Linked DNA regions of Homo sapiens: region 1 is linked to region 2. Evidence: promoter capture Hi-C in human tissues and cell types (Jung and others, 2019). All regions are on one chromosome and are shown on one strand. Each heading gives the region's core, a stretch centred on a gene start or on the middle of the fragment in contact. The rest is flanking DNA. Distances are from core to core; before and after follow the strand shown.

Region 1 (4,807 bases), core at 1,931-4,430, 58 kb after region 2:
AGCAGTTTCTTCACATTCCCCTTTTCCTAGCCTCAGGCAACCCCCCATCTGCTTCCTGTCTCTACGGGTTCGCCTATTCTGGACGTTTTGTGTAAATGTAATTGTAGGCTATTTTTCCTTTTATATCTGGCTTGTTTGACTCAGCATAACATCTTCAAGGTTCATCCACATTGTAGCATGTGTCAGCATTCCTTCCTTTTCATGGCTGAGTAATATCCCATCATATGGATAGGCCACATTTTGTTTAACCATTTGTCATTTGATGGACATTTGTGTTGTTTCCACCTTCTGGCTATTGCGAATAAGGCCACTACGAACATTCATGTGCACGTATTTGAGTTCATGTTTTCAGTTCTTTTGGGTAGATACGCAGGAGTGAAACTGCTGGGAAGATAAGGTTTTCTTTCATAATATCAATGGTGTGTTCCTCAGTGACCTCTGATGCATGCAATAGTGAGAGGTTGGGAGTCTCTTTAACTGAATCAACTAAATTACCAAGAAAACACAAAATACAAGGGAAAACACAATATTTAAAATCTATTATGGTTTTTCAGAGACCAAATCCTTTCTCCAGATAAAACTGTTGGTGAGTGGCCATTGTCACACCTCATTATTTACACTGCGTGGCTAACGTCACAGTCATGGGCCTGTGGAATCATCTCGGCTCCTTAGGCTCCCCTGGCCATGAGAATGTCTCAGACTTCCTCGTTTATTCGTGACCTTGACAGTTTCAAAGAGGACTGGTCAGGTGTTCTGTAGAATGTCCCTCAACTTGGGCTCTCCTGATGTTTTTCTCTTGATTAGACTACAGTTAGGGGCTTTGAGGAAGAAGACCACAGAGATGAAGTACGTGTCTCATAGCATCATATTGGGGGTACGTGATATCCCCATGACCTATCACTGCCGATGTCAAACTCGGTCACTTGGTTACCGTATTGTATGCCAGATTTCTCCTCTGCAATGCTCCTGTCATTCTCTGTCCACACTCTGTTCTTTGGAAGCAACCCATTAAGTTTAGTTCACCCTCAAAGGAGAGATTAAGCTCCACTTCCTTGAGGGAGAGTATTGACATATATGACTTAGAATTCTTCTGTAGAGAGGAATGATGCTATGTCATGACTCAAGACAAAATTGGGGCCCTGTTAGTAAGGAAATAGGGGAGCATGAGATTCCAACCCTCAATTGTAAATGGGGAAACTAACATTTGCCTGACCTATGCTGATAAGAGAATGTCTACATCTAATGTTGGAACAAGCAGGAGCTTGGAATAGTGGTGGGGTTTTTACCACAGGTTGGCAACTTTTGACAGGCGAGTTTATTCATTCAAGGCTTAAAGACTAGAGGCTGGGATAGAGGGAGGTACACAGTGGTGAGTAAGGGTGTAGCGAACATACTTCATTGTTACCCAGTATCCACTTTGCCCTTTCCTTTAGTAGTAGAATCCTAATGTCTTAGCTGGGTACACAGCTGCCCAGCTAAGGACTACATTTCCCAGCCTCCTGTGTGGCTATATGTGGTCATGTGATGAATTGCTGGCCAATGGGATATGAATGGAAATGATGCATTCAGCATCAGAATTAAGCCAAGGAACAGGACTTTGTGATGGATAAGTGGGAAGAAGAAATTGGGTGCTGTTTCTTACTTTCCACTCAGCTAGAAGCATTTGGTATGGTGGTCCTTGAATCCAAGCTGTGTCATCAGCACTGCATTAAACAGCATCTCTAGATATAGCCATAAATTGTATATTCACAAGTGAATCAGATTTTAGTGAATCTCAAACAAAGAGAACTTTGTCCTAGGTCAACCTCTTATTGTCTGTGTAAGCCTGAACAAGCTACATCACTTCTGTGCATCTCTGTGAACTTATTTTTGAGCGTTGATGCCCACCTCACCTAGATTTTCGGAAAAGCCAATGCATTCAGTATGGAAGATACTTAGCATGGGGCCTGGCAGGCAGTATCTCAGAAAACACTTCCAGTTTTGTTATCTTTCCAATGATCATTACCAAGATGTTTGTGGGATTTTTCGTCAACATTTACAACCTGGTTAGAGTTTGTCATCTTCCTCCGCTTTTTTTTTTTTTTTTTCTTTTTTGGGTCTGCTTGTTAAACAAAATTAAATTGCAGTCCTAGTAAGGCTGGTCTTAAACGTATGAAACCATTTTCAAATTTGAGACGCATGGGCGAATTCAAGGCACAGGAATTAGTCTGCATTCCAGATCAATTAGGGAAATAGTTTGCAGTAACTACTGCATTTTGAAACACATCAAATAGGAAAGAGAAGTCACTGTTGTATGTCACTGTCAGAAAGCAAAAGTGAGGCTTTTTTGTCTGATTTCAAGAATGGCTCACTCACAGGGTCCGCAATGGAGAGGCAAGAAATAGCAGGCCTGCCAAAACCACTGTGAAGTTTTCACTGACTCAAAGACCGCCCACCCAATCCCAGGGGACTTGGTAATTCAATGGAGATTAAAGGCACACTAAAATCCTGGTAACCAGAGAAAAGCAGGCTCTATTAGGTTACCATTTCCATTTTTCTGTCAAGCAAAGGCAGAGTTTCCCCAGAGAAGACGGAGTATTTGCTCTCAGCCAAAAGACCCCAAAGAAGCAGAACTCTTTAACCGAGATTACAAAAGAGAAAAAACGTGTAAGTGCAGAGCTGAGCCGAGCCTGTGCGTTCCTGCCAGCCCCCCACTATGAGCTAAGGCCCCTGGCACTTAAGTCAATGCAAAATGAATAATGCACTTAGTTAAATATTTCCTCCCATGATGAAAGTCCTTGGTCACCCGAATTTCTTTTTCTACTTGACGTGTTCATTTCTTTTTCTGACCAGATATCCATAATAAAATCTGGCACTCTGAGGACAAGTGCTTTCTATACAAGCTTTCTCCAACTTTCTATCACAAGCCTTTGAAACTGAACACCCCCTTTTTATCCTGTATTACTTCCTCCCCTGGAACCGTTCAATCTCTACTCAGCAATCCCATTAGACTTTTAACTTCCATTTTTTAAGTGCTGATAAAAATGTATAGATGTCTGAACCCCATCCAGGGAAGCCAACTTTCAAACTATGCAAAAAGGAGGCCGTGGCGGCTCTGGAAGGATGGGAAATGGAGCTTGTGGCAGAGCCACACTGTGGCCCGCCAGCTGTGCCGCATGATTGCACGCTCGCCCACGCGTTCTGGGGGGCTTGGTGGTCCATTTCTGGCACAGGCTCGGCCACTGCATCATGATCTAGGGGTTGTGGGATTACTATACAGATTTTTATACAGCGTAAAGTACTCTTGTTCATCTTTCTGAGACGAGGCTGAACTTTATGGAAGAAAGGAGTGGTTTAGTAGGAAATGATCAGACTAATCACATGGAAATAAACAGCGTATTTTATCACGTTCCACGTGTTCATGCATTTCCCCTTCTTTTTTATAGAGAGGGAGGTTGCCAGCTGCCTTGAAGAAGAGGGAGGGGCAGAAGGAGGCTTAGGGTCCTCAGGCGGCCCTTCTGAGAAAGGAAGAGGGAAGGGAGGTGTAGGCGAAGGAGGTGGGCCCGTCTGGAGGAAGGTAACTTCTCCTCCTTTAGCTGGGGGTGGGGCAGAACATGGGATTGTCCTCAGACCCAGGCCCTGCTCTTCTCTGAAAACACTGCCAGTGTCCCCTGCATACTGGCTCCTGCCCAGGTCTCACTCATGGGAAGCACTGGGTCAACAGGAGGTAGGGTGGCACATGGAAGAGCAGCTACCTACACCTCCTCGTTCCCTCTGAGTCTCCTCTGTGCTTCCAGCTCCCTGGGGATAACCTCCCTGTCCTGCCTTTGCTGGGCAGCCCACCTGGCTCTGGGCCAGAGGAATAGCCTGCCTTGGACTTGCTGCTCTTGCCAGTATCTTGACTGCCTCACAGGTCCCTCCATGGCCCCTAGCTCTTCCATCCCCAGTGCAACCAAATCCCTGTATTCAATCCCTCTGGTGGCAGTGCCTAGAGTGGATTTGCTTTCCAAATGGATGGAGAGCAAAGCCTGAGGATGAGGGCTCTGGATCAGCAAGGTGGCACTTACCAGAACTGCCAGGTCCCTGTGCTCCTGGGGCAGTCAATCCACTGAGGAATGTGTCTTTTCTGCAGAGTGGATGTAACAGGACCTGGAGCAGCATCCCTGGTTTTGGCAGGCTTTCTGGGCCCAAGTTGCAGTGGGGGTGGCTTTATATTGTGAAGTGTGCTCCTCTTTCCTGCAGCCTGTGACTCCAGGTGGAGAGGCTCCCCTGTCACCTCCTCTCAGTGTGACCTCTGCCAGGGGATGCCATCCACTCAGCATCTGCAGGATCCCTGAGGAGCAGCCATGGCCCATGGACCCCACCCACCCCAGCTCAGACCTCTGGGACCAACACCCGACAGGCAGCAGGCTCTTCACAGACACAACCCAGGAAGCTCTGAGCAACTTGGCCATAGCCCCTGCACTAATGGGGACACTGAGGAGTGACAGTGACTCCAAAGAGTCGCTGCCCAAGCAAATGCATGGAAAAGAGGAGCCAGGGAACACGTACAGCTTCTGGGCTTTGCCAGGCTCACCTCAGCTCAGCTTCATGGTTTGCTGGGCCAGGACTTCATGTTCATCCAACACCAACCTGCCAGAAGCATCTGTTCCCTGGGGATGTGGAGGGGCAGGAGCAGGAGCAACTCCATACTGCTGGACCTGCATAACGGACGTCCTGCCACTGGGACCATGAGCTCTGGGGAGGGAGAGAGAGAGAGAGAGAGAGAGAAGGAAAACACTGAAAAGACAGAGACACAAGGTTTGGAGAGAATGCAGCCTGGCTTTCC
Region 2 (4,308 bases), core at 110-2,609:
ACACGATTTGCTCAATGAGACGCCAGTTATCCGAATGTGTGTGTGTGTGTGTGGGTGTGTGTGTGACAGTGTGTGTGTGTTTTAATATTCAGGGGGTGGTCATAAACAGGAAGTAGTCACACTAGGTGCCTCTACCCTTACCCTAACCGGTGGAGTGGGGAGGAGAGGCCCCCTTCGAAATCAGCATGATTCAGGATTTTTTATTCAAACAGTGATGTGGGAAAATGTAAAATGAGATGGGGGTGGAGGGCCGCGTACACCCCAGGGTGGGTGGATACAGGGAGAGCAAGCAGGCTTCCCAAATGCCTAATGTAATCACGGGCCAGCTGCATGCACTTGTAAAGTTGTTATAACCCCCTCCTTGTTATAAACAGGAAAGCCCAGAATATAAAGCTGGAGACCCACATTCACAAATACCAGGCCTCCCGCGCCAGCTGCCACGGCCTCCTTTTATGGTGTTCCTCTCTTGCAACCTTGGCCCCATCAGGAGGACCTTACTTTTGCCCCCGGTTCTCTAAATGGGTTTATTTTGAAACCTTCCTCAATGGAGCTGTGGACCATGAGCTCTTCCCCAGGCCCCCAGTGCCTTAGGCCTTCCCTTCCAGAGAGACTGGGCTCCCAGAGTCCACTTTCCCTCCGATTTCCGGAGAGCCCTGGAAGGGAGGGTGTGGGAGAGCAGGTCCCTAGAGAGTGCCACCTCCTACTGGGTCTGCCACCTGTTTTTCCAGGGAGGGCCGCATCCCCTTCTCAGCAGACACTCAGGCTTCTTAGATACTCTCCCTGCCCCAATCTAAAAGGTTCCTAGGACCTCAGAAAGTGTTTTACTAGACTGTGGCATCTCGATATCTCCGGTTAAGCCTGGGAGAAGAAAAGACCTTTTGTGGGAGGCCCTGGCGTTATGGGGCTCCCCCAGGCCAGCGTAAAACTCATCCCTGCACACCCACCCCCATCTCCACCTCTCCTTCCTGGCTCAGCAGACCCTGCTCTGAGCCACCGCAGTCTACATCCTGCCTCACTGACTGTGTGTGCTTACAGCGTCAAGGGGTGGACGTGATATTTCAAACATCAGATCAGTGCGTTTATATATTGGGTGCCCGGAAATTTTTCCAAATAAACACAGCTTGATTCAACTTGGGTGGGCGGACTTATCAACAGACTAATTCTATAAACAAATGAAGGAATAGCCCCAAAACCGATTGGCTGGTATCAAAAAGACACGTGGAGGGAAAAGCTTGGAGTTTTTCAGCAATGAAATTTTAATTAATGTGGGTGGGCTGAGAACACAAGGACTGTTTATCATAGACAATTTATTTTCCAGGGCTAAGTCAACATATAACAGCAAACTTACAACAATTATTTAACATTTTTAAAGCCATGAAGAAGGGACAGAGCACGGAGCGGCCGGGGAGAGCGGCAGAGCCAGAGGCAGAGGCACGGCTGGCTCCCCGGGAGGGCCCTTGCGGCGCGGGGCGCAGTGCCTAGGCCGCCCGGGTCTCCTGCGTTGCGGGGAGCGCAGCGCAGGCTCTCGCTTGCCATGAGTCACCTCTTCGATCCCCGGCTGCCTGCCCTGGCCGCCTCGCCCATGCTGTATCTGTACGGTCCCGAGAGACCCGGCCTCCCTCTGGCCTTCGCCCCCGCGGCTGCTCTAGCTGCCTCGGGCCGGGCCGAGACCCCGCAGAAGCCTCCCTACAGCTACATCGCGCTCATCGCCATGGCGATCCAGGACGCGCCCGAGCAGAGGGTCACGCTCAACGGCATCTACCAGTTCATCATGGACCGCTTCCCCTTCTACCACGACAACCGGCAGGGCTGGCAGAACAGCATCCGCCACAACCTCTCGCTCAACGACTGCTTCGTCAAGGTGCCCCGCGAGAAAGGGCGGCCGGGCAAGGGCAGCTACTGGACGCTGGACCCCCGCTGCCTGGACATGTTTGAGAACGGCAACTACCGGCGCCGGAAGAGGAAGCCCAAGCCGGGCCCCGGGGCCCCGGAGGCCAAGAGGCCCCGCGCCGAGACGCACCAGCGCAGCGCGGAGGCGCAGCCGGAGGCGGGGAGCGGGGCAGGGGGCTCGGGCCCCGCAATCTCCCGCCTGCAGGCAGCGCCCGCGGGCCCCTCGCCCCTCCTGGACGGCCCCTCTCCGCCGGCGCCCCTCCACTGGCCGGGGACCGCGTCCCCGAACGAGGACGCTGGTGACGCTGCCCAGGGCGCAGCGGCCGTGGCGGTCGGCCAGGCAGCGCGCACAGGGGACGGCCCGGGGTCCCCTCTGCGCCCCGCCTCCCGCAGCTCTCCGAAGAGCTCCGACAAGTCCAAGAGCTTCAGCATAGACAGCATCCTGGCGGGAAAGCAGGGCCAGAAGCCGCCTTCAGGGGACGAACTCCTAGGGGGTGCCAAGCCTGGGCCCGGCGGCCGTCTGGGTGCCTCGCTCCTGGCCGCCTCCTCCAGCCTCCGTCCGCCTTTCAACGCTTCCCTGATGCTCGACCCGCATGTCCAGGGCGGCTTTTACCAGCTCGGGATCCCCTTCCTCTCTTATTTCCCCCTGCAGGTTCCCGACACGGTACTCCACTTCCAGTAAAGCAAACAATGGCACGGTTCTTCTCCCGGCCCAGCCTGAGCCTCCGCTGAGCGAAAGGCCACAGCTCCCACCGGCGGAGGATTTTAAAATGATCTTTGCCTGGGTCGGCCTGTGGGTTCAGGGAAGTGTTACCAACCATTGCGCGCAGGTGGGCGCGCTCGCCTGCCTTCTCCGAAGCAAACTTTTCCCAGCAACTGGGAGCAGCTACGGAGACTTAAAAGATCCCCGCGGGGTCGTGGGCACCGCACGTGGGCCCTGCAGGGACCTCCACCGCGGGAGATTCCTTGACGTTTGACCTGTCTAATGGAGTGTGGTCTTCAGCCGCCCACCGCAGGTCCTGCGAGTCCCGGGCATGCAAGGGCCCGCAGACCACCCAAGGCAGGCCTTACAGGTGCAGTTGAGGTCCTTTCGACCGGGGACCCCCGTATGACCGTCGCCTGCTTCGCTGTTGCCGTGTGGCTCAGGCCTTGGTTTTGAGCCCATCTGGGTGGTGGGTGGTCACAGCTGGGTTTGTTCCTGACTTGAAGTTGTGGAGGTGCCGGGGGTGACCCCGGGTTTTCAGGTTTTCTGAGAGATGTAGGGCCCGATGAGGATTTATGACCAATGTTCAGCTATAGAAGCTGATAACCACCCAGAGCAATAACACTTTTATTTTAAACAGAGACTTTTTCTCTTAATTTCTTTCTGGGTAGTAAAAAGAACATGTTTCATTCTTTGCATAAATACTTGACTCTAAGCATTGACCTTTGAAAACGCTTGTATTAACAATTTTTATTAAGAAAGTGCACTCTATATAACATCTTCTTGCATTACGATAGCTCATTAGCCAATACACATGCAGCTATGTAAGCCACAACAGCAGACGTCCTATCCTTTTGCTTTTGTTTTTAAGGGATCAAAATATTTCAAGGGATACCATGAGGAAGGGTGTGAGGGGAAGGGGATATGCCTTGGACAATGTCAGAGTTTTGATTTCCATGTTTTTTCAAGATCCAGGCTTGGTGGTCGCTATATTTTTCAGAAACAGATAATGAAAGACTACATTTAATTTAAAAAGTTGGGTGAAACAACCAAAAGCAGATGCAGAGAGAGAGAGGGATGAATGCGGGGGAAGAATAAGGGGACGTGCTGGTGTCCGCTGGAAGGGGCCTCTCTGGGCCCCAGAGGACCTGAGGTTTGATGGCAGGAATCTCCCAGACACTCCTGGCCCCCGCACCCCCTGCAGCCGCCCGCTCTTCCCTCCCAGCCCTGCCAGGCAGGCCTGGAGGCTGATACTAAATCAAAACCTTAAAGAGGTGACTGGCAGTCTGGGGAGGGGAGAAGAGGTCTGCAACGAAAATCTAATTAAGAACATTGAGATGTTCACAACCAAGTTCAGCTTGCAGCTTCCGGGGAAATGCAACCGACCTCTATGCCATCTCTAGCTGGGTAATCTTCGAGGCCCTGAAATGCAATTTTCTGAACCTCTAAGTCACTTTTATTTTATGTCATGTGATAAAGACACAAGTAGTCACGCACTATTGGAAATAGGTTGGGAGGGAGGTCTTTAAGATCGCTTTTAAAATAGTTTCCAGGACTTGTCTAAAAATGATGACAAACTTTGAATCCAGAGGGCCTGTTGGTCAATGTGTTGGAAAGGACATTTCAGGCCGGCAGAGTAATTGGATAATTCACAGGCATAGAGGTGACTTTTGGAAAATTCATTCTCCTATCCATGCTGAACCAGGCTTCCACGA

The links. Contacts are between HindIII fragments. The study calls those that stand out against the background at their distance.
Region 1: a contact is called between a fragment that was not itself captured here and the fragment with the promoter of FOXL1 in region 2, in 1 of the 25 tissues and cell types used here (IMR-90 fibroblasts).

The regions. Positions count from the first base shown.
Region 1 is chr16:86,632,967-86,637,773 of GRCh38, forward strand. No RefSeq gene overlaps it. Among named protein-coding and RNA genes, the nearest start is that of FOXL1, 57 kb to the left of the region's middle. The HindIII fragment of the contact is 7,055 bases long and covers 1-4,807 here.
Region 2 is chr16:86,577,190-86,581,497 of GRCh38, forward strand. It overlaps FOXL1 (forkhead box L1), which reads left to right and starts at 1,360. Exons shown (of 1, transcript NM_005250.3): 1 at 1,360-4,308. The coding sequence starts at 1,535. The coding sequence ends at 2,572. RefSeq lists an enhancer at 2,220-2,841. The HindIII fragment of the contact is 9,412 bases long and covers 1-3,224 here.